Regions from separate parts of the Homo sapiens genome. Here regions 1, 2, 3, 4 and 5 are each linked to region 6. The links are contacts of gene promoters, found by promoter capture Hi-C in human tissues and cell types (Jung and others, 2019). All regions are on one chromosome and are shown on one strand. Each heading gives the region's core, a stretch centred on a gene start or on the middle of the fragment in contact. The rest is flanking DNA. Distances are from core to core; before and after follow the strand shown. Region 1 overlaps SLC16A14 (solute carrier family 16 member 14). Region 2 has its middle 80 kb from the start of LINC01907. Region 3 has its middle 99 kb from the start of LINC01907. Region 4 has its middle 35 kb from the start of LINC01907. Region 5 overlaps CAB39 (calcium binding protein 39). Region 6 holds the start of SP140L (SP140 nuclear body protein like).

Region 1 (4,154 bases), core at 1,333-3,832, 270 kb after region 6:
TGCACGCAGTAACATCAAAAAAAGACTCAGAAGAAGGCCAGGATATGAAATGTCCCAATATTTTCCAAACCATCCAATAAGTTGGTCTTAGATATTATGTTTCATAAGTCCTATGAAAATAAGCAACAGAAACTAGTTCTGAAATTATTGGATATGGTTTTAAAGATGATCCCCAAAATAAGAACCCCTAACTCATGGTGAAATGTGATGGTCATACTTAATTTAATTGACAGGTAACTGTGTGTTCAGAATTTTGTTTGAGAGTCCCTGAATTCCAGACTGTGGAATTTCAGATTTTAGACTAATCTTTCTACAGGGAAAGCTGCCTGCCAGATAAACATTTTTTGCTGAGTTTCAGAAATCATAACATAACACAGCAGGCCTCATAGTTATATAAATGAAAGGTCTTTTATTCTATCTATTTACCTAAAATTATTGTCCATTATCCCAAGCTTCCTGGTACAGGGTGGCTGCAGATTTGTTGAGCAGCCTCAGGGAAGCTTTCCAAGCCAGAAACGCGCAGTAACAGCTCTCCTTTATTTAGCACGCACTGCATGCCACATGCACGTTAATGTACATGATCTCATTTGATCCTACAACACTGGAGGCCAGACCATTGTCTGTATCTTACAGAGGAAGAATATGCAACACTCAGAGACATTAAGTAACTTACTGAAGGTTGAACAGCCAGTAAGTGTAGAACTGGCTTTAAACCTGGTCCATGGGACTCCAAAATTGTGTCTACTATGACACTGCCTGCCATTACATCAAATGAGAACTGAAAACATACTTGAAATGAATAATACAAATGGTTTTTACGTTCTAATCATTGTAAGCACATTTGGGCTACCTGTTAAATTTAGAAAGGTCCGTGGTTTTTTCTTTTTTTCTTCTTCTTTTTTTTTTTTTTCTGAGATGGAGTCTCGCTCTGTCGCCCAGGCTGGAGTGCAGTGGCACGATCTCGGCTCACTGCAACCTCTGCCTCCTGGGTTCCAGCGATTCTCCTGCCTCAGCCCCATGAGTAGCATGAATTCATCACCATCCTGCAGAAGGTCCCAACTTTTAATAAAACGTAATCACCTCATTTGTATTGTAAACCACAAAATATCTGAGACTGGTCTCAATCAATCCGGAAGTTAATTTAGCCAAGGGTAGGGAGGTGCCCAGAAGAAATAAACACAGAATCACAGAAACAGTCTGTTACCTGTGCCTTTCTCCAAAGATGATTTTGAGGACTTCAACATTTAAAGGGGAAAAGGGGGCTGGAGGAGAAAGGGAGGGTACAGTCATCCACGTGTTGCAAGAGAAAAGGTGCAGATAGGGGAATCATCAATTTTGTATTCATCTCACACTCAGTAAATCAGCACTTTTACATAAAATAAGGTGAACATAGAGTAGCTACCTGTGGAGCTATATAACCCTTTCTCTGTGACTAACTGCTTAGGAATAAAAGGAAAGGCAGTTGCTTGCATGACTCAGCTTTCAGCTTAATTTTTTTCTTTTGGCAGAGTGAATTGGGGTGCCAAGTCTGTATTTTCTTTTCACAGTATCTACAGCAGCCTTTGTGAGGCTAGCTCTGAATCATTCTTGGGGGATGCCCTATTGTTGGGGGAATCCACAGGCTACACAAGATAAATGACTTGCTAAATCACTTTATAGCAGTGATTGTCAATCTTGATTGCACATCAGATCCACCTGGGGAGCTTTAACTTCCCCCCCCACCTCAGGCTGCACCTGGGATGGGCTCCAAGTATCAGGATTTTTTTTTAAGCTCCTAAGCAACACCACTGTTCAGCTAAGGCAAACAGTTCATTGATTTAGAGGCTCCTAACTCTTTACTATGGTGAGGGGTTACCCTAAGAGACCTGGAGTTCAAAGCATCTGTAACCATCCCTGAGAACTGCCAAGGCTCACCTGTGATTGCTCCTCTACCAGCGCTTTTTTCCAACCTGTCAGCTGCCAGGATGGGTCAATAAAATATAACTTCCTGAGGGTGTTCCCCACAGCAGTGGGACACTTTTTTTTTTAGATGAAGTCGCACTCTGTCACCCAGGCTGGAGTGCGGTGGTGCGATCTCAGCTCACTGCAACCTCTGCTGCCCAGGTTCAAGCGATTCTCCTGCCTCAGCCTCCCAAGTAGCTGGCATTACAGGCATCTGCCACCACACCTGGCTAATTTTTGTAGCTGTAGTAGAAACGGGGTTTCACCGTCTTGTCCAGGCTTGTCTTGAACTCCTGACCTCGTGATCCACCCACCTCGGCCTCCCAAAGTGCTGAGATTACAGGTGTGAACCACCACACCTGGCCAGGACACTTTATTACAGTGGGAAATGGTCCAAGATTCAGATTTCTTCTGAAAATGAAAAAGTCAGATAATGTGAATAATCTCATCCTAAAACACTGAATTACTCTATAAAAGTGTGAGTCATGGTCAAAGGATTGTATCTCAATTGTATGATTCCCCCTTCTCCTTAGATTGTGAGGGGACTTCTTTTATTTTCTGGAAATGGTGGTTTGATTTTGGCAATGCTAGTGGACCATCAGTAAACAGTGGGTAGAAAATGAAACTCAGCTGGCACAGTGGCTCACATAATCCCAGCACTTTTGGAGACTGAGGCGGGTGGATCACCTGAGGTCAGCAGTTTGAGACCAGCCTAGCCAACATGGTGAAACCCTGTCTCTACTAAAAATACAAAAAATTAGCTGGGCATGGTGACAAGCACCTGTAATCCCAGCTACTCAGGAGGCTGAGGCAGGAGAATCGCTGGAATCCAGGAGGCAGAGGTTGCAGTGAGCCGAGATGGCACCACTGCACTCCAGCCTGGGCAACAAGCGTGAAACTCTGTCTCAAAAAAGAAAGAAAGAAAGAGAGAGAGAAAGAAAGGGAAGGAAGGGGGGGAGGAGGGAGGAAACTGAGAGTCAAAAAGCTTGGGTTTTTATTTTTTTTTCAATGTACATATATTTTATAACCATGGAGAAGTCACAGCATTTCTGGGTCTCGCTTGGCTCATCTGCAAATCATAAATGACTGAAGCCCCAGCATGCGAGAGTTGATTAAGTTGTAACAGTGCCTGGCTGTTTAGTTAATGTTTTTAGCAGTTAAATAGTTATACTTTTTTAAATTTATAAAATTCCTCCAGACATGAATATTTGCACTGAGTTTGGAATTTTCTCCCTTTTTTTTTTCTCAAACGCCTTTTTAATGTAATGTTTCATAAAGCACCTCAGAAAAATTTGCTTCTGGGCCCTTTCTGTGAAGTGGAAAATATGATTGTGCTACTGAACTGTGATCTGTTGACCTTTGAAAAGGCTACAAACAGCAAACTGACAAGTCATGCATTTTTCTTTTTTTTACCCACTCATCCAAGCTAGGCATAGTCAAGTAACCATGGGTTTAGAAAAACAAAAATAAAAATGTGTAAAGAAATCAGACAAGTATCTCTAACTTACGGTATGTGAATTTCAGTTAACCCCAGTAATTCCATCAGATTTTTTATCAGTGCATTTATTTTATATATTATTTCTATAATGTGCATATTTAATAACAAATAACATTTATATAAAGTATGTTTAGGCCGGGCGCGGTGGCTCACGCCTGTAATCCCAGCACTTTGGGAGGCCGAGACGGGCGGATCACGAGGTCAGGAGATCGAGACCATCCTGGCTAACACGGTGAAACCCCGTCTCTACTAAAAATACAAAAATTAGCCAGGCATGGTGGCGTGCGCCTGTAGTCCCAGCTACACGGGAGGCTGAGGCAGGAGAATGGCGCGAACCCGGGAGGCGGAGCTTGCAGTGAGTCGAGATCGCGCCACTGCACTCCAGCCTGGGCAACAGAGCTAAACTCCGTCTCAAAAAAAAAAAAAAAAAGTATGTTTAATATATTAAGTCTATTCTAAGGAGTTAATTTACTGAATTATTTCCTGTAATGCAACAGAGTTAATTAAATTAATAAGTCTTCACCTTCATAGTTTTTAGGATTAGGCACCCACAAAACCACTAGACAAAATAAACTCATTAGCTGACTGTACCCAGATATACACATGAATATAGTTAGAACTTTAAAGGAAACTTTATTTCAGTTTAAGCCAAAAGGGAAGCTCTTTAAACAAGTTTTTAATATAGTTCATCTGCATATAAGGTTTCATAACTTTG
Region 2 (4,106 bases), core at 1,240-3,739, 290 kb before region 6:
TTTCCATAGAGGTGTTTATAGTATTTTCTGATGAAGTAGTTTGTATTTCTGTGGGATTGGTGGTGATATCCCCTGTATCATTTTTTATTGTGTCTATTTGATTCTTCTCTCTTTTCTTCCTTATTAGTCTTGCTAGCAGTCTTTTTGTTGATCTTTTCTAAAAACCAGCTCCTGGATTCATTGATTTTTTGAAGGGTTTTTTGTGTCTTTATCTCCTGCAGTTCTGCTCTGATCTTAGTTATTTCTTGCCTTCTGCTAGCTTTTTAATTTGTTTGCTCTTGCTTCTCTAGTTCTTTTAATTGTGATGTTAAAGTGTCAATTTTAGCTCTTTCCTGCTTTCTCCTGTGGACATTTAGTGCTATAAATTTCCCTCTACACACTGCTTTAAATGTGTCCTAGAGATACTGGTATGTTGTGTCTTTGTTCTCATTGGTTTCAAAGAACATATTTATTTCTGCCTTCATTTTGTTATTTACCCAGTAGTCATTCAGGAGCAGGTTGTTCAGTTTTCATGTAGTTGTGTGGTTTTGATTGATTGAATTTCTTTTTTTTTTTTTTTTTTTTTTTGAGACGGAGTCTCGCTCTGTCGCCCAGGCCGGACTGCGGACTGCAGTGGCGCAATCTCGGCTCACTGCAAGCTCTGCCTCCCGGGTTTACGCCATTCTCCTGCCTCAGCCTCCCGAGTAGCTGGGACTACAGGCGCCCGCCACTGCGCCCGGCTAATTTTTTGTATTTTTAGTAGAGACGGGGTTTCACCCTGTTAGCCAGGATGGTCTCGATCTCCTGACCTCATGATCCACCCGCCTCGGCCTCCCAAAGTGCTGGGACTACAGGCGTGAGCCACCGCGCCCGGCCGATTGATTGAATTTCTTAATCCTGAGTTCTAATTTGATTGCTCTGTGGTCTGAGGGACAGTTTGTTGTGATTTCTGTTCTTTTACATTTGCTGAGGAGTATTTTACTACCAATTATGTGGTCAATTTTAGAATAAGTGTGATGTGGTGCTTGGAAGAAGTTATAGTCTGTTGATTTGGGGTGGAGAGTTCTGTAGATGTCTATTACGTCTGCTTGGTCCAGAGCTGAGTTCAAGTCCTGGATATCCTTGTTAACTTTCTGTTTCATTGATCTGTCTAATATAGACAGTGGGGTGTTAAAGTCTCCCATTATTATTGTGTGGGAGTCTAAGTCTCTTTGTAGGTCTCTACGGACTTACTTTATGAATCTGGGTGCTCCTGTATTGGGTGCATATATAGTTAGGATACTTAGCTCTTCTTGTTGAATTGATCCCTTTACCATTATGTAGTGGCCTTCTTTGTCTCTTTTGATCTTTGTTTTGGTTATGGTTAAAGTCTGTTTTATCAGAGACTAGGATTGCAAACCCTGCTTTTCTTTTTGCTTTCCATTTGCTTGGTAGATCTTCCACCATCCCTTTATTAGAGCCTATGTGTGTCTCTGCATGTGAGATGGGTCTCCTGAATACAGCACACCGATGGGTCTTGACTCTTTATCCACTTTGCCAGTCTGTGTCTCTTAATTGGGACATTTAGCCCAATTTACATTTAAGGCTAATATTGTTATGTTTGAATTTGATCCTGTCATTATGATGTTAGCTGGTTATTTTGCCCGTTAATTGATGCAGTTTCTTCATAGCGTCGATAGTCTTTACCATTTGTCATGTTTTTGCAGTGGCTGGTACTGGTTGTTGCCTTCCATGTTTAGTGCTTTCTTCAGAAGCTCTTGTAAGGCAGGCCTGGTGGTGACAAAATCTCTCAGCATTTGCTTGTCTGTAAAGGATTTTATTTCTCCTTTGCTTATGAAGCTTAGTTTGGCTGGATATGAGATTCTGGTTTGAAAATTGTTTTTTTTTTTTTTTAAGAATGTTGAATATTGGCCCCCACTGTCTTTTGGCTTGTAGGGTTTCAGCCGAGAGATCCACTCTTAGTCTGATGGGCTTCCCTTTGTGGGTAACCCAGCCTTTCTCTCTGGCTGCCCTTAACTTTTTTTCCTTCATTTCAACCTTGGTGAATCTGACAATTATGTGTCTCGGGGTTGCTCTTCTGGAGGAGTATCTTTGTGGTGTTCTCTGTATTTCCTGAATTTGAATGTTGGCCTGCCTTGCTAGGTTAGGGAAGTTCTCCTGGATAATATCCTGAAGAGTGTTTTTTAACTTGGTTCCCTTCTCCCTGTCACTTTCCAGTACAGTAATCAAATGTATATTTGGTCTTTTCACATAGTCTCATATTTCTTGGAGGCTTTATTCGTTTGTCTTCACTCATTTTTCTCTAATCTTGTCTTCTTGCTTTATTTCATTAATTTGATCTTCAATCACTGATATCCTTTCTTCCATTTGATCGAATCAGCTATTGAAGCTTGTGCATGCATCACGAAGTTCTCGTGCCATGGTTTTCAGCTCCATCAGGTCATTTAAGGTATTCTCTAGTATTTATTCTAGTTAGCCATTCATCTAACCTTTTTTCAAGGTTTTTAGCTTCCTTGCAATGGGTTAGAACACGCTCCTTTAGCTTGGAGAAGTTTGTTATTACTGACCTTCTAAAGCCTACTTCTGTCAACTCTTCAAAATCATTCCCTGTCCAGTTTTGTTCCCTTGCTAGCGAGGAGCTGCGATCCTTTGGAGGAGAAGAGGCGCTCTGTTTTTTGGAATTTTTAGCTTTTTTGCTCTGGTTTCTCCCCATCTTTGTGGTTTTATCTACCTTTGGTCTTTGATGTTGGTGACCTACAGATGGGGTTTTGGTGTGCATGTCCTTTGTGTTGATGTTGATGCTATTTTTTTCATTTGTTAGTTTTCCTTCTAACAATCAGACCCCTCAGCTGCAGGTGTGTTGGAGTTTGCTGGAGGTCCACTCCAGGCCCTGTTTGCCTGGGTATCACCAGCAGAGGCTGCAGAACAGCAAATATTGCTGCCTGATCCTTCCTCTGGAAGCTTTGTCCCAGAGGGGCACCCGCCTGTTTGAGGTGTCTGTTGGCCCCTACTGGGAGGTGTTCCCCAGTCAGGCTACATGGGGGTCAGGGACCTAACTGAGGAGGTAGTCTGTCTGTTCTTGGTGTTCAAATGCCATGCTGTGAGAACCACTGCTTTCTTCAGAGCTGTCACACAGGGACATTTAAGCCTGCAGAAGCTGTCTGCTGCCTTTTGTTCTATTATGCCATGCCCCCGGAGGTGGAATCTATAGAGGCAGTAGGCCTTGCTGAGCTGAGGTGGGCTCCGCCCGGTTCATGTTTCCAGGCCTCTTTGTTTATACTGTGAGCTAGTCAAGCCTCAGCAATGACGGACTCCCCTCCGCTCGTCCAGCTACAGCATCGCAGGTTGATCTCACACTGTTGTGCTAGCAGTGAGCAAGGCTCTGTTGGCATGGGACCCGCTGAGCCAGGCATGGGAGGGTATCTGCTGGTTTGCCAGTTGCTAGGACTGTGGGCATAGTGCAGTATTTGGTCAGAAGTATACCATTTCTCCAGGTACAGTCTGTCATATGGCTTCCCTTGGCTAGGAAGGAGAAATCCCCCAACCCCTTGCACTTCCCAGGTGAGGCGACACCCTGCCCTGCATCAGCTCACCCTCCATGGGCTGTATCCACTGTCCAACCAGTCCCAGTGAGATGAACCAGGTACCTCAGTTGGAAATGCAGACATCAACCGTCTTCTGCATTGATCTCGCTAGGGGCTGCAGACTGGAGCTGTTGCTATTTGGCCATCTTGGAAGTGACCTTCTCTTCTCTTCTCTTCTCTTCTCTTCTCTTCTCTTCTCTTCTCTTCTCTTCTCTTCTCTTCTCTTCTCTTCTCCCCTCCCCTCCCCTCCCGTCCTCTCCCCTCCTCTCCTCTCCCCTCCCCTCCCCTCCCTTTCCTTTCTCTTTTTTTCTTTCTCTCTCTTCCTTTCCTTTCCCTTTCTTTCTTCCTTTGTTTCCCCTTCATTTCCTTCCTTCCTTCCTTACCTCCCTCCGTCCCTCCTTCCTTCCCTCCCTCCCTCCCTTCTCTTTCTCTCTCTTTCTTTCCTTTCTCTCTCTCTCTCTTCCTTCTCCTTTCCTTTCCTTTCCCTTCCCTTCTCTTCCTTCTCTTTTCTTCTCTTTCTCTTTCTTCTGGGCTTCACTCTTT
Region 3 (4,015 bases), core at 105-2,604, 280 kb before region 6:
GTCCCAGGTCAACTTCAGATGGCTGTGCTGCCAGCAAGAATTTCAAGCCAGTCAATCTTAGCTTGCTGGCCTCCATGGGGGTGGGATCTGCTGAGCTAGACCACTTGGCTCCCTGGCTTCAGCCCCCTTTCCAGAGGAGTGAATGGTTCTGTCTCACTGGCATTCCAGGCGCCACTGGGTTATGGAAAGACAAACTCCTGCAGCTAGCTCGGTGTCTGCCCAAATGGCTGCTCAGTTTTGTGCTTGAAACCCAGGGCCCTTGTGGTGTAGGCACCTGAGGGAATCTCCTGGTCTGCAGGTTGCAAAGACCATGGGAAAAGTGTAGTATCTGGGCTGGAGTGCACTGTTTCTCATGGCACAGTCCCTCATGTCTTCCCTTGGCTAGGGGAGGGAGTTTCCTGACCTCTTGGGTGTTGAAGTGACACCCCACCCTGCTTTGGCTCACCCTCTGTGGGCTGCACCCACTGTCTAACCAGTCCCAATGAGATGAGCCAGGTACCTCAGTTGGAAATGCAGAAATTACCTGCCTTCCATGTTGATCTTGCTGGGAGCTGCAGACTGGAACTGTTCCTATTTGGCCATTTTGCCAGCCACCCCCACCTAATCCCTATTTTTAATTTTTTGAGGAAACTTCACACTGTTTTACGGAATGGCAGCACCAATTTACATTCCTACCAACAACATATATGTGTTTTCTCTACATCCTTGCCAAGACCTGTTACCTTTTCACCTTTTGATGCTAGCCATCTAACAGGTGTGAGATGGTATCTCACTGTGGTTTTGATTTTCATTTCCCCGAAACTCCCTGGGAGGGGATTGGGGATCTGTCTTTAGGCAGACAGGGGGAGTTCAGGGAAAACGTCTCTCTGCCTTTGGTCTTTCTCAAGTGTCTTCAGCTCAAAGTGATCGGCACACCAAAGCAGCATATTTTGGGGTGGCATTTCCTGAGCTCTTTCAACGGGCTCAGGGCAGTGGCTTTTCCCTAACTGGGTTAAAAGCGTGTTAATGCTTCAGTACTGTGTAGGGCTTTAGTGTAGCACCCTAGCTGGACATCAGCCCCACCAGGTATGGGTGGGGTTCTGGGAAAGGGCCTGGGCTCTCAGGTGGCTGCACTTGTGATAGCAGCTGACTTCCTGTAAGTGCACTGGTGCAGGAAGTGAGCCCTGCTTCCTGTCTGTGTTGCTGGGGGTGGGTGGGGGTGTGGGGGCGGGGAACAGAGGGGAAGCCAGGCCCTTGAACTTGAACTTTTGTCATGCAGGCACTGCAGCTGGGGGTTGGTGGCCTCCTGGAGGGTGCCTGAAAGGGACTCTGGCAGTGCAGCTCCTTCCTCGGGGCAAGAACCCTGAGCTGGGGCAGTGATTTCCCTCCCCTTGATTTCCTCACTTTTGTTTTGTTTTCTCTTTTTTTTTTGAGACGGAGTTTTGCTCTTGTCACCCAGGCTGGAGTGCAGTGGCATGATCTTGGCTCACTGCAACCTCCGCCTCCCGGGTTCAAGTGATTTTCCTGCTTCAGTTGCCCAAGTAGCTGGGATAACAGGTGTGCACCACCACGCCTGGCTAGTTTTTGTATTTTTAGTAGAGATGGGGTTTCACCATGTTGGTCAGGCTGGTCTTGAACTCCTGACCTCAAGTGATCCACTAGCCTTGGCCTCCCAAAGTGCTGGGGTTACAGGTGTGAGCCACTGTGCCTGGCCTCATATTCTCTTAAACCATTAAATTGGACGGGTGCGGTGGCTCACGCCTGTAATCCCAGCACTTTGGGAGGCCGAGTCAGGTGGATCACTTGAGGTCAGGAGTTTGAGACCAGCCTGGCCAACATGGTGAAACCTCCATCTCTCCTAAAATACAAAAATTAGCCGGACATGGTGGCGGGGCCTGTAATCCCAGCTACTGGGAAGGCGGAGGCAGGAGAATCGCTTGAACCCGGGAGGTGGAGGTTGCAGTGAGCCAAGATCATGTCACTGCACTCCAGCCTGGGACACAGAGTGAGACTCGGTCTCAAAAAACAAAAAACAAAAACCCCCAAACCCCCCAAACTATTAAGTTTTGCAGCCAAACCTCATTCGTCCTGGGTGTGGCTGAATCCAGGGAGGAGGGGAAAGCTCCATTATGCGGGCTTCAGGCCCACACCTGTGCCACTGTTTTGCCGTCACCTGAAACCAGCAGAAAAAGCAGCTCAACTGTGGCTCTGAGAAACTTCTGATATTGGTCATGACATTCATTCTCTACAAAATCCCACTCTCAACTAAGCTGAGCCTCCCTGCCCCCGCCAATTTATTTTTCTGTCCCCAGTTATGCTCAGCGCTATTGTCTGTCCCCACGCTCCAGAGAGCAGCATGTGATAGCTTAGTTGGACTAATTAACACGAAGCTCCACATTCAAATAACATGAGTCCTCTCCCATTATCATTATTATTATTATTTATTGTAGCAAAGTATACATAATAGTTATCATTTCATTGTTAATATATATGACTATTTAGCATTATCAATTTCTCATTTAGTCATTTGTAAGTGTGCAATTCAGTGGTATTAAATACATTCACAATACATTCGTGTAAACGTCACCACTATTTCCAAAACTTTTTTGTCATTCCCAATGTAAACTCTCTACCCGTTATACAAATAACACCACATTCCTTCCCCCTCCTCCCATCCCCTGGTGACCTCGATTCTATTCTCTGTTTCTATGAATTTGCTTATTCTAGGTACCTCAGATCAGTGGAATCACACATTTGTCCTTCCATGTCTGGCTACTTTCACTTAGCCCAGTGTTTTCAAGGTCCATCTACACTGCAGCACATATCAATATTTTATTCCCTTTTCATGGCTGAATACCATGCCATTGTGCATGGCCACTGAATGCTCTTGTAAACATGGGTATGCAAATATCCAAGGTAATGCTTTCACTTTTTACGGCTATACCGTATAACTAGAAGTGTTGGGATTTATAGGGTTAAGCCACTGTGCCTGTCCTTAATTTACTTTGGATATATACCCGGTAGTGGGAATTGATGGATCCTATGGTAGTTTTTTTTTTTTTTTTTTTTTTTGAGACTGAGTCTTGCTCTGTCACCCAGGCTGGAGTGCAGTGGTGCGATCTCGGCTCTCTGCAACCTCTGCCTTCCGAGTTCAAATGGTTCTCCTACCTCAGCCTCCCGAGTAGGTGGGACTACAGGTGCATGCCACCACGCCTGGCTAATTTTTATATTTTCAGTACAGATGGGCATTTCACCGTGTTGGTCAGGCTGGTCTGAAACTCCTGCCTTGGCCTCCCAAAGTGCTGAGATTACAGACCTGAGCCACCGTGCCCCGCCCGTATTTTTTATTTTTTGAAGAACCTTCACGCTGTTTTTCAGAATGGCTGCAGGAATTTACATTCCCACCAACAACATTTAAGTGTTTTCTTTTCTTTACATCCTTGCCAACACTTGTTATCTTTTGACCTTTTGGTGATAGCCATCTAACAGGTGTGAGATGATATCTCATTGTGGTTTTGACTAGCATTTCCCCGATGTTTAGTAATGTTGAGCACCTTTTCATAAACCCCTTAACCATTTGTATATCTTTTTTGGAAAAATGTCTATTCAGGTCCTTTGCCCATTTTTCAATTGGGTTATGTGTTTTTTTTTTTTTTTTGCTATTGAGTTGCATGAATTCTTTATATATTTTAGATATTTAATCCTTATCATACACCATAAATACCCCTACTCTGTACTCACAAAAATTAAATTAAGTATATTTAAAAAAGATATTAAAACTAAAGAAAAAACACTTATCAGATATATGGCTTGCAAATATTTTCTCCATTCTGTAGGTTGCTTTTTCATTTTGTTGATTATTTCCTTGGCCGCTCTGAAGTGTTTTAGTTTGTGGAAAATCCCCTTGTCTATTTTTGCTTTTGCTGCCTGCGCTTTTGGTGTCATATCAAAAAAACTTTGCCAAGACCAATGACATGGAGCTTTTCTCTTCTTTTCTTCTAGAATTTTACAGTTTTGGATCTTACCTTTAACTCTT
Region 4 (3,741 bases), core at 591-3,090, 340 kb before region 6:
GAGAGCATATGCCCCAGCCCTCAGGGGAGAGAGTGCTGGTGTCCCCAAGCAGCAAGTTCTCCAGTACTCACAGTATCCAGGAGGTGACCAGAGACCTGGGGGTGGGAGACAGGTGGGGCACCTGGGCTGGTACCAGGTGGCCAGCCTTGGCAGAGATCTCCCAAACTGTCGGGGACATTAGGAAACCACACCAGTGAGCTTGGGCAGCAAAGAAGCTGGGGCGACTTTGATGTACAAAAGATTAGGAGCCCTTCTGTGTGTTCAAGGCATCAGAGCCTCCTGGGTTCCGGTGGGTGAAAGGGGAGGTCCCAGTGGAGATGGAAAAGGAAATCTAGGTCAACCTTTCCAAATGACGTTGGCCTTGGAATGCGGTTGATTCAAGGGCAATAAAGAAAGTGTGTTAGGGCTGGGCGTGGTTGCTCACACCTGTAATTCCAGCACTTTGGGAGGCCGAGGTGGGTGGATCACTTGAGGTCAGGAGTTCGAGACCAGCCTGGCCAACATGGTGAAACCCCGTCTCTACCCAAAATGCAAAAATTAGCTGGGCGTAGTGGCGTGTGTCTGTAATCTTAGCTACTGGGCAGGCTGAGGCGGGGGAATTGCTTGAACCCGGGAGTCGGAGGTTGCAGATAGTGCCAAGATAGTGCCACTGCACTCCAGCCTGGGCAACAGAGTGAGACTCCATCTCAAAAAAAAAAAAAGTGTGTTATTTAATCCCCATTATACAAGTAAGGAAACTGAAGCTCGGAGCAGGTAAGGCTCCCAAGCTCACAGTGCTGGAAAGTAGCAGAGCCAAATCTCCCCCAGCCTTGGGTCACTGGAGCGGCTAGTTTCAACAAGGTCACACTGCCGCCGCCCCCACTGCAGTGGGCCGCCATGGGTCTTCTCGGTCAGCACTCACTGCCCGCTGGCTCTGCAAACCTCATTCTCAACCTGCGTTTGAACTGGAAGCTTTCGCTCTGATTCTCTCCCTGTTTCCAGGGTGGGTTTTTTTTTTTTTTTTTTTTTTTGAGATGGAGTCTCATTCTGTCACCCAGGCTGGAGTGCAGTGGTGCAATCTTGGCTCACTGCAACCTCTGCCTCCAGGGTTCAAGCAATTCTCCTTCCTCAGCCTCCCAAGTAGCTGGGATTACAGGCACCCGCTACCATGCAGGCAAATTTTTTTTTGTATTTTTAGTAGAGATGGGGTTTCACCATGTTGGCCAGGCTGGTTTTGAACTCCTGACTTCACGTGATCAGCCCACCTCGGCCTCCCAAAGTGCTAGGATTACAGGCATGAGCCACCGTGCCCGGCCTCCAGGGTGGTTTTAAGAAGGCAAGTCCGTGGGATCTGCCAAGTCATCTCATGCAGAGCGTTCAGGAAGATCATGGTCCCCCTGCCAGTTCCTGCGGTGTTCTTGAGGTCAAATAATATTCTTGTGGTTCGCTCATTCATTCATTCACTCACTCACTCAGCAAGCACTGAGGGAGTACATGAGGGACTGTGGATATGGCAGTGAACTATAGACCTGGTCCCTCCCTCCAGGAGCTTGTAGCACTTTTGTCTGGTGGCAACACGTGGTGTGGAGAAAAGAAAGCTGCTCAGCATGTTAGGGTATGCAGCAGGGTGGAGAGCTGTTGTCATTAACACAGGGAGGTCAGAGGAAGGCTCTGGTAGATGCTAGTGAAAGTCTGAAGGGTAAGGGAGTCAGCCCAGGGCTCCAGGGGGAAGGGCCTCCGAGGCAGAAGGTACCAGAAATGAAAAGGCCCTGAGTCAGGAGCACACTTCCCTGTGGCTGAAGTGATCCTGGGAGTCCACAGGAATCCATGGGAACCTGTGAGCCATCATGGAGATTTGGGAAACACGAGAGGGCTGGTCTGGCTGTGTGATGAGGGTGGTTGGGGCGGCTGGACGTGCAGGAAGGAGAGAGATGTCATGATCTACGTGAGTCGGGACAAAGGATGGACCAGGGTGGTGGCTGTGGAGGCGGGAGGAGCAGTCAGACTCTGGATGTATGTCTAAGGAGGATGAGGGCTTGGATATGGGGAGGAAGAAGGGGAGCCCTAGGTTTTTGGCATTCATCTTCTGGCAGTCTTTCCTTAACTTTCCACCACTAGGGCCAGCCTCTGAGTTCATCCTCACCAGGTTGCTGCGACAGGGAGGGCAGGCTCTGTGTCCTCATGTTTGCCTTTTGCTTTAATCCTCACTCATCTTTACTTGCTTTAGCCCATGGGCTCTGGAATGAGGGGCCCTTGGAGCCCCCCACTTCTGATCCTGAGGTGGGGGGCAGGCAGTAGAAGCTGGAAGGAGAGCCTTCCTTAGCACACAGCCCCACACCCCACTTCCCATCCTTTCTTTTGAAGAGTGGAGGGGGATCCTCTGAAAAGCAGCGATGAGGAGTGCTCCCCCATCCCCACCCCCTCTGCACTGTGCTCCAGCCAAGGCCTGAGAAAGCAGCGCAATGTCAGGGAGACCCAAGGGGTGGTGTGGCAGAGGGTGAGAGAAATGAGACAGCACCTCAGCCTGTGAAAGTGGAGGCTGCGTGGATGCCGGTGCACATAAGTGAGTGGGGAGGGGGAGGGAGAAAATCTTCCCACCACTAGACTGCCCATACCATGCAGACTCAGAGACCTGCAGCCCAGGCTCTGCCCCTCTCAGCTCTGGGCTCTCCTCCCAGTCCTGGGGGTGGCCCTGGGCCAGGGCTGTGATGCACCGCCCACCCTCACTGCACTTGAGCTCAGCTGAGAGCATATGCTGGGCACCTACCCAGTATCTAGTTTCCCCTTCTTCCTTACTAACAGCATCCTGCCTTTGGGGGGTGGCAAGGTGTCCAGCTCAACTACTTCCTTGGATCCTTTGTATGTAGTGGTGGTCATGTTGACCTAGTTCTGCCCAGTGGAATAAGAGCAGGAGTCAGTGGGTGGAAATTTACTTTTTTTTTTGTTTTATTTTTTGAGCTGGAGTTTCACTCTTGTTGCCCAGGCTGGAGTGCAATGGCGCGATCTCAGCTTACTGCAATCTCTGCCTCGTGGATTCAAGTGATTCTCCTGCCTCAGCCTCCCGAGTAGCTGGGATTACAGGCCCCCGCCACCACACCCAGCTAATTTTTTCTCTTTTTAGTAGAGATGGGGTTTTACCACGTTGGTCAGGTTGGTCTCAAACTCCTGACATCAGATGATCCACCCACCTCGGTCTCCCAAAGTCCTGGGATTATAGGCATGAGCCACCATGCCTGACTGGTGGGTGGATATTTAAAAAGAAACAGATTCAACTGGCATGCTCTTTAGCCCTTTCTCTTTGATCTTTGACTTCATCGTTTTCTCCTTCTAACTTTTTGGAAGACAGTTTGGACGCCTGGAGGTGCAGCAGCCATATTCAACCATGAGGGGAAAAGCCAGATGCTAAGTGTGGTGGAGGAGAACAGGAGGAGTCCTGATGTTGGCTGACCCCTAAGCGATGGTACCAGCCCTTGACTGCCAACTCTAAACTTCCTTTTTTGTATGAGACAAAAAAAAAAAAAAAAAAAAAAAAAAAAAAAAAAAATCCCTGTTACTCTAGTTTTTAGTTACATGCAGGTGAACACAGTCCTAATTGATACCCAGGTCATCTCATGCAAAATCTGGTAGCTACTTCTGAAAGCCCAGCACCCACCCCAGCTAGCCTAGGGCAGCCCAGCCCATGGGTGGCTGACCTTGGGCCATGCCTCTACCCTGACCCCACTGCACAGAGGTGATGGCCCGCAGGAGTACAGTGTGTGGGGC
Region 5 (4,061 bases), core at 1,076-3,575, 450 kb before region 6:
AATAATCTTTTTGCCTTTTCTTCACAGGTAAGGGGCATCCTACTTAGTTCCAAGGCTGATGGCTCTCTCTGTGCACTGGAGAAAGGGCTCCCAAACAAAAAGGAGGTTAGCTTTGACTCAGGTACCCCCTGTGCAATTGTGCCAGTTCTGTGGCCTCATGGAAACCTGTTGGGTCTTACTGGACCATCCGATAATTAAGGGAACTGGACCAGATGACCCCTAAGACCCATTCCATTTCTTTAAGATCTCAAACTCCAAATAAAGGTCTTCAATTCTCTTTTGCCCTGTCATCTACATTCCTTCTCTCACCCTGGACATCTCTGTCTCTACTCAAGCTAACATAAAAGCCTGAATGCTCACACTCCTTCTTTCCACTCTTAAGAGCTCCTGCATCCAGGAAGACTCTCCTCCCTCCCATGACTCTCTCCTCCTCTGATGCCTACAGCAGCTGTGACCTTATTTCAGTTGCTGACCTTGTAAGTGCTATAACCTTTCACACATACCTCTCATCTCCCTAACACATTCAAGGGCTTTGGAAAGCGCTTATGATGGCAATTTACACATGGAATGACCTGATGATTTTGTTAACTGACTGAATTGTCTGGGAAGTTTCCTCAGTTGAACATGGTGTTCCAAGACACAGATGCTACATTTCTATGTACCAGTTAGCCTCATATTACTTTTCATGGGCAGACTGCTTTATTAAAAGTAGCCAACTGTTTTATAGATCATGGTCAAGAAGAAAGGCATAAGAGAACAGCCCCCCTTTATAACAAGCCCACTCACTTGCCTAGAAAGAGATGCGGATCATCCCTTACTGCTGACTCGTCTGGGAGGGAGGTACAGAGTTTTGTTTCAGTTCTTAGCTGTTTCCTTATGGCTTCTGAGAAGTGCTTCATCCTGTGTGGCTGTACAGAGCAGCCGTATGTGGTGGGAGTGTGGAGGCTCCAAAAGAGCACAGCACAGAGGAAAGGGTCTGGGGCTTGGCAAAGCTTCTCAGATCAAGGCTCTGAGTTGAGAGGTGAAGTCCCTATGTCCCATGGGGCCAGGCATATTAATTCTAAACTATGGAGCCTGACTTCCACATATGATCAAATGATAACAACTTCATCTTTAATTACATTTAATAATTTTTTAAAGTTAAAATATTTAAGTGTTAGGATCAACTTAAGTAGTAACCAGTATCCCAAAGTTCACACCTAATGCTCACCTCACTAATAACAGTATCAGAAACTAAACTTTCCCTCCCAGGGTGAGGACATAGGTAACTATAGTCACGCACCACATAACGTCTTGGTCAACAGCAGACCACAGAGACAACTGTGGTCCCACAGATACAATACCATATTTTTGCTGTACCTTTTCTATGTTTAGATAAACAAATACTTGCCATTGTGTTCCAACTGCCTACAGTATTCGCTATAGTAACAAGCTACACAGATTTGTAGCCTAGGAGCAACAGGCTGGAAGAAATCGCCTAATGATGCATTTTTTGGAATGTATCCCTGTTGTTAAGTAACGTGTAACAGGACTTCAAATTTTTAAGGATAGAGTCCATAATAACCTCTTCAAGTAGCACTAAGGCTATGAGATTTTTCACTGCCTGCTTTCCCATTAAAAAATAAAACAGGGTGGGAAAATAAGCAATTAGTAAGCTAAACATTAGTACAAATGGCCTTTTCAGAGATCACCAAAACCTCAGGAGGTTTCGTATTAACTCTCTTGACTTAAATCCAATATTCCCACGGTACCTATCAGTGCACTATTTTACTGTCACTAGAGGCAATTGCTGATAAAAAGTAGTGATACAAAAGTACAATTTCAGAAGACTCGAGAAGACAGCTCACATACCCATTAGTGCTTCTATGCAATGTCCTTGAAGTACTCACAGCCCTTACCAACACTCCTCCTCTGGACTCAAGCACTCAGTAGATCCAAACCGGCCTTACGTTAGGAAACAAGGTGACAAGAAGGCTACTTCCACATGAAGGGACAGGACTTTACTTGGTGAGATACAAGACTGGGCTGCCCTCTTCACTGTCCCCAATTTTTAGTAGTTAGTAGCAATTCTAACCTCAATATAGAAAGCACACTTAAAGACAAACATAGTAACATGCTGAAGTATACAAATGGCTAAGTCAGACATTAAAAACCTTACAAAAGATTCTATTTCATAGTAATAGTAACAATCTTAAAAGGATAAAATATTCTTCCTTCTTATCAGAGGCAAAGGCTTTTAGATACGCCACTGGTAGGAAAATAAATTGGTACAACTTTACTGGAGGGCAATTTGGCAAAATGTTATTGAAGAGTTTTAAAAGGTGCAAGGCCTCTGACTCATTTCTGCAACTTCCTGTGAATTATACTTTCAGGAATTTACCCTATGGAAACAGACAAGTACACAAAGGTAAGTACATGCAGTGTTACTTACAACAGCAAAGAATTAGAAGTAAAAGTTATCCCACTGAACTAGTTTAATCATTACGTACCCATAAAATGGAAGAACCACGGCAGGCTTTAAAAATAATTGAGGGCCAGGGGTGGTGGCTCACACCTGTAATCCCAGCACTTTGGGAGGTGGTCAAGGTGGCGATCACTTGAGGTCAGGAGTTCAAGACCAGCCTGGCCAACATGGTGAAACCCCATCTCTATTAAAAATATGAAAATCAGCCAGGTACCTGTAATCCCAGCTACTTGGGAGGCTGAGGCACAAGAATTGCTTGAACCTGGGAGGCAGAAGTTGCAGTGAGCTGAGATTATGCCACTGCACTCCAGCCTGGGTGACAGAGCAAGACTCCATATTTAAAAAAAAAAAAACAAAATTGAGATCTATATGCACATGAAAAGATGTTAAAATTTAAAATTAAAAAAAAAAAAACAAAAAAAACACCAACAGGTTACAGAGCAGCATGACCCCATACTCATTTACTTATCTGCCCCAGAGAGAGGGAGAAAACAAGCTAGAATATGAATGAGAATCCCCACCAAGTTAACAGTAGTCATTTCACGTGGTACTGAATTAAGGATAAACTTAATTTTTTTCTTTATAGTCTTGTATTTTCTGCTTTTTGGGGGAATGAACATACATCATATACATCATTAGAACATGACTTTGTATAGATACAGAAATAAATTAGAATCTATGAAGGAAACAAAGATCTTTCTCGCACACACTCATACACACTTCCCTACTACACAATGTAGAATTCCAATATACTAGTTAGAATAAAGTAAAACTAAAAAAGTGGATGAAAGGCCAGGTGCGGTGGCTCAAGCCTGTAATCTCAGCACTTTAAGAGGCTGAGGCGGGCGGATCATGAGGTCAGGAGATCGAGACCATCCTGGCTAATACGGTGAAACCCCGTCTCAACTAAAAATACAAAAAATTAGCCGGGCGTGGCAGGCGCCTGTAGTCCCAGCTACTGGGGAGGCTGAGGCAGTAGAATGGCATGAACCCAGGAGGTGGAGCTTGCAGTGAGCCGAGATCGTGCCACCGCATGCCAGCCTGGGTGACAGAGCGAGACTCCATCTCGGGGGGGGAAGAAAAAAAGTGGATGAAGTGAGACAGAGCACCTGGAACCATGACCTACTTGTTTCTCCAGAGCAATGAACTAGTGACACTCACAACCACTTGTGTGGATCTCATGGGAATGATGCTGAGTGGAAGAAAGCCCATCTCAAAAGTTTACACACTATATGATTCTATTTATTTAACATTCTTGAAGTAATAAAATGTATAGACTTGGAGAACAGATAAGTGTGATGCAATTGCATAGAGCTATATGCATATCCACACAAACTGTAAAACTGGTGAAATCTGAACAAGCCCTGTGGATTATACCAATGTCAATGCTCTGGTTTTGATATTGTATATAGTTATGTGAGAGGTTACCACTGGGGATATGGGTGAAAGGTACATGGGTTCTCCTGTACTCATTTCAGCAACTTCCTGTGAATTAATTAATTTCAAAATAAACAAAACAAAGTAAGGCAACATAAGACTTCTATAGCGTAAGACCTCTTGCACTCCCCCTCAGTATACCCTTAGGTTGTCTATAAGG
Region 6 (3,782 bases), core at 72-2,571:
AAAAGAGTGAGGTAGATCTATATGCATTAAGGTGAAAAGATCTCTAAGATTTCCACCATTAAAATGAGTAGAAATGCAAAATGCAGAATAGCACGCACAATGTAATTCCATTTATTACAAAACGAGAACACAAATTATATGTTTACAAAAACATACTTCATACACGTAAATGCATCGAAAAATATGAGAAAAGTTATGCCGAAGACTCTTCACAAGACTGTGAAAGGAAGCTACAAGGCGAAGTGAGTGGTGAAGAAGACTTTTTCGTTTATACACTTCTCCACTGTTTGAAATTTTATGAGTAAGAATGTAATGTATTTCTTTTGTATTAAAAAATTTAAAAGATTAAAATCGCTTGAACCCAGGAGACAGAGGTTGCAGTGAGCCGGGATTGTGCCACTGCACTCCAGCCTGGTTGACAGAGTGAGACCCTGTCTCAAAAAAATGAAATAAAATAAAAAGATTACGTAATGTTATTTATAAACTCGTTACTAGAGAAAAGATAGGATTTCCATCTCTTTTCTGGTCAGAGGCATCCCCCATCTTGGGACAGGAAATTGAAGTAAAAATAAAAATATTTAGCTTTCTGCCATCCTGGGCCTTTTTCTTCTTTTTCCTTCTTTGGATCAAGGTCAATTGTATCAGAACTCACACCCTGAGTCAGTCAAGGAAATAGCCCCAAAGCTGACTGAGGCCCCTTGCCAAGACAGGTGAAACCACAGTTTCCAATGTTTAAAAGTAAGCCAGCTGTTTACCCTGGAGTGTCTATTTCCAAACTACCTTCTTTGACATGACATATGTGAAGGTAGAGAGGGCAGAGGGATGTGAAAGGGTTGGGAGATCATGAGGAAATGTTTGTTGAAACACAAACATATAATTTGTGTTCCTCATTCTCATGAGGAAATAATAACTCTCAGTCACAAATGACTGAAACGACTGTTCAGAGTGTCCCCGCCAGCTGAGCAGTAGTTTCAAAACAAGAAAAGTCATCTGTGTTATGGCAAGCTGGACTCACACAAACAGCTGTCCTGCTGCAGTTGTAAAAATCTGATTTCCTTATTACATTCTCTTTTATTCCATTATATTACACTACCTACCTATGTTCTTGCAAAGCAGGACTAAACTGAAGCTTTAGACAGAAACTGAACTACAGGCATGAAAGCTCCAATACTGCCAGAGATAAAGGTGAAAGGAAGAGAGATAAAGACTCACCTGGTGCTCAGGTCGCTGCCCCCACCTGCCATCGTCCCACCCTAGGCCCTGCCTGGGTGTCAGAGCCTGGCCTATGAGCTCCCCAGTCGGCCCAGCCTGCGTGCAGTGTGGCTGCCCTGACCCGGAGCAGGAAGTCGGCCGACAGACTGACTCACCCTCACAGATTTCTGCCCAAATGGGGAAAAGAAAAGTGAAAGTATTTATTTAACTTCCTGCTGGGATACAGACACCGTGTTTCTCCTCCTTTTTCACTCCAAGGGGTTCTCAGCTTTTCTGAAATGTGGCAGACGGTTGGAGGAGAGGCCTGACAAGCAGCAAGACCTGCAGGACCAGGGAAAGGAGGGCCCAGAGGACGAGCAGGGCTGGCTTCCGGGAGTCCACTTGCTTGTGCAATGGACAGCAAAAAAAAAAAAAATGTCCTTGAACCAAAATAGTCCTTAGCTGCTCTGCCCTCTTAAGAGGGGGCATAGTTTACATGGGAGTTGGGGGGAAAACTCCATGTTTGCCCCTTCCCCTTGCTGAAATGGCTGGGGGTGAGAGTTGGAGGGTTGGAGGGAAAGCCAGAAACTTCAAATCTTCTCTCAGGCCCATGGGAGAGCATGGACTGGACTAAGGTAGGTCCTGACATGGGGACCCAGGGCTGGAGAGAACCAAAATGCTCAGCATTATAACCTGGGGAGAGTGTTCTTAGCCTTCCTGGAAATCAGCCAGAAGTAAGAGAGAACTCTCCACACCCCTGGGACCAGAGGCTGGAGCCAGCATGGTAAGAAAGGCAAACATTTTAAGGGGCAAGGGTTTAAGGAATCTTGACTATGGGGCCACCTTGGAACAGCCAGGGATGAAGAGAGCTTCGGAGAAGTCACTGGAATCTTGAGAGAACAAAAGCTTCTCATTGGAGGAGGATGGAGGTTGGAACCCAGATGATCTAGACATGGAAGGGCAGGGTGGCTCCCGCGGGAGGTTCTATCTCTTCCCAGATTTTCCATTTAGATTCTGATTCAACATTCCTCAGAGAACAAGAAGCGACCGAGAAGACTCGCTTTACATCAGTATAAAGTCATAGGTAAAGAAATAGAAGCAAAGGGCGCATGAGAATGGGGCCACAGGACACAACCAGGGACCAGAACTCCAGGCTGGACCATGGGGCAGAGACAGGGAGGCAGCTGGGAGCCTGGGGGCGCTGGAATCCAGGGCCCAAGGTGAGCAGAGGGTGGAAGCTGGTGAGGATTCAGGGGCCAGAGGGGATGGTGCTCCAGAGCCATGTTTTCCAAATTACATTCTGCTGAATCCAACTTTTTCCAGCCCCCACCCCCAGCCATCTCAGCAAGGGGAAGGGGCAAACATGGAGTCCTCCCCCAACTCCCATGTAAACTATGCCCCATCTTAGAGGGCAGAGCAGCTAAGGACAATTTTGGTTCAAGGACTTTTTTTTTTTTTGCTGTTTATTGCACAATAGTTGGAAGCTGTGAATGCTTGTTCAGGTACATTTGAAAATACGAGGGTGGGGGGTTTCTACCCTGATTCTACTGGTGCCCTGCTTTCCCCAAAATGAGTTAATAAGCAGGTGCCAAGACACTGGTGAGGACAGCTTTTCCAGTGGGCGAGGTCACTGTTTCTATCAGGTACTGCACACCTGTAGGTCTCTCTCTCTCTTTCTCTTGCTCGCTCCCCCATGACTCCCCAGTTTTATGGAGGCACAGTGGCTGGTAAGCTGAGCATCTGTTGGGCACAGTTGTCCTCTGATCCCAGTCTCCATGGAGCACAGCAGCACTGACAAGGCCTGGCGCGGACCACACCAGTCGGCTCTGGCGTCTGCACTCACCCCTCTCACTGCTCTTGGGCAGCAAGCAGGCCCAGGCCACTGAGTGGCACTGACATATGTACCAGCTTTTCTCTGGGTGTGCTTAGGGGCTGGAATTCCAGACCAATGAGCTGGCTGGAAATCTGCAAGTGTTGACCTTTACAGGTGGACATGCCCTTGCTAGGGCAGCTCCTGACAGCAGGGAAGGAGATGTTCTTGTCAGACAGGGTTGGAAAAAGCTGAGCACACACCACACTCTGCAAAAGCAATGCCAGTTAATGGAGAATCTCTAGGCTTCTGTGGGAAAAGCAAAGTTTCTTTGATCTGGAATACATCAGACACACCTGGGTTGGGAAAGGGACAGGACCAAATTAAGAAGTAGTATGAAGTTCTAAAAATCCTGCTGGATTGTTTAGAAGGAAATAATGGAACTCCTGGAGCATTTTCTATGGCTGCAAGGAGTACAGGCAACAGGGAATGTTTTTGCTGTCACAGAAGTAGTTCCAGTTACTGGAGCCTGGAAAACTCAGAAGCAGGAGAGGCAGTGATTGAGGAAGAACCACAGGCAGGGCACCCATCCAGGTGATGGGCCTTCGTGAGCTTCACCAAAAGCAGCTTCAGTTCAGACTTCAGTGGCGAGGGGTGGGGAGGGGCTGTGATTCTTGAACCTGGGACCCCCATGTGGGAACCCAGAGGTCTATCCCTGAGATGAGGTCATTGGCGTTATGGACCAGAGAGTTTCAGGGCAGGAGGCAGCTGCAGCAACAGT

Evidence for each region. The method cuts DNA at HindIII sites, captures the fragments that hold promoters and counts their contacts. A contact is called where the count stands out against the background at its distance.
Region 1: a fragment that was not itself captured here is called in contact with the fragment with the promoter of SP140L in region 6 in 1 of the 25 tissues and cell types used here (mesenchymal stem cells).
Region 2: a fragment that was not itself captured here is called in contact with the fragment with the promoter of SP140L in region 6 in 1 of the 25 tissues and cell types used here (lymphoblastoid cells).
Region 3: a fragment that was not itself captured here is called in contact with the fragment with the promoter of SP140L in region 6 in 1 of the 25 tissues and cell types used here (spleen).
Region 4: a fragment that was not itself captured here is called in contact with the fragment with the promoter of SP140L in region 6 in 1 of the 25 tissues and cell types used here (pancreas).
Region 5: a contact is called between a fragment that was not itself captured here and the fragment with the promoter of SP140L in region 6, in 2 of the 25 tissues and cell types used here (mesenchymal stem cells and spleen).

Annotation. Positions count from the first base shown.
Region 1 is chr2:230,051,653-230,055,806 of GRCh38, reverse strand. All of the region lies in intron 2 of SLC16A14 (solute carrier family 16 member 14), which reads left to right. It overlaps LOC107985996 (a long non-coding RNA gene), which reads right to left. Exons shown (of 2, transcript XR_001739919.3): 2 at 4,053-4,154. Among named protein-coding and RNA genes, the nearest start is that of SLC16A14, 15 kb to the left of the region's middle. The HindIII fragment of the contact is 4,211 bases long and covers 477-4,154 here.
Region 2 is chr2:230,618,873-230,622,978 of GRCh38, reverse strand. No RefSeq gene overlaps it. Among named protein-coding and RNA genes, the nearest start is that of LINC01907, 80 kb to the left of the region's middle. The HindIII fragment of the contact is 3,569 bases long and covers 705-4,106 here.
Region 3 is chr2:230,599,924-230,603,938 of GRCh38, reverse strand. No RefSeq gene overlaps it. Among named protein-coding and RNA genes, the nearest start is that of LINC01907, 99 kb to the left of the region's middle. RefSeq lists a silencer at 1,150-1,229 and an enhancer at 1,370-1,499. The HindIII fragment of the contact is 4,784 bases long and covers 1-3,746 here.
Region 4 is chr2:230,663,190-230,666,930 of GRCh38, reverse strand. No RefSeq gene overlaps it. Among named protein-coding and RNA genes, the nearest start is that of LINC01907, 35 kb to the left of the region's middle. RefSeq lists enhancers at 1-513, 3,201-3,390. The HindIII fragment of the contact is 5,990 bases long and covers 1-3,741 here.
Region 5 is chr2:230,776,180-230,780,240 of GRCh38, reverse strand. The region is part of intron 2 of CAB39 (calcium binding protein 39); the gene reads right to left. Among named protein-coding and RNA genes, the nearest start is that of CAB39, 65 kb to the right of the region's middle. The HindIII fragment of the contact is 5,711 bases long and covers 1-4,061 here.
Region 6 is chr2:230,324,732-230,328,513 of GRCh38, reverse strand. It overlaps SP140L (SP140 nuclear body protein like), which reads right to left and starts at 1,321. Exons shown (of 19, transcript NM_138402.6): 1 at 1,213-1,321. The coding sequence starts at 1,244. RefSeq lists an enhancer at 1,178-1,647. The HindIII fragment of the contact is 8,396 bases long and covers 1-3,782 here.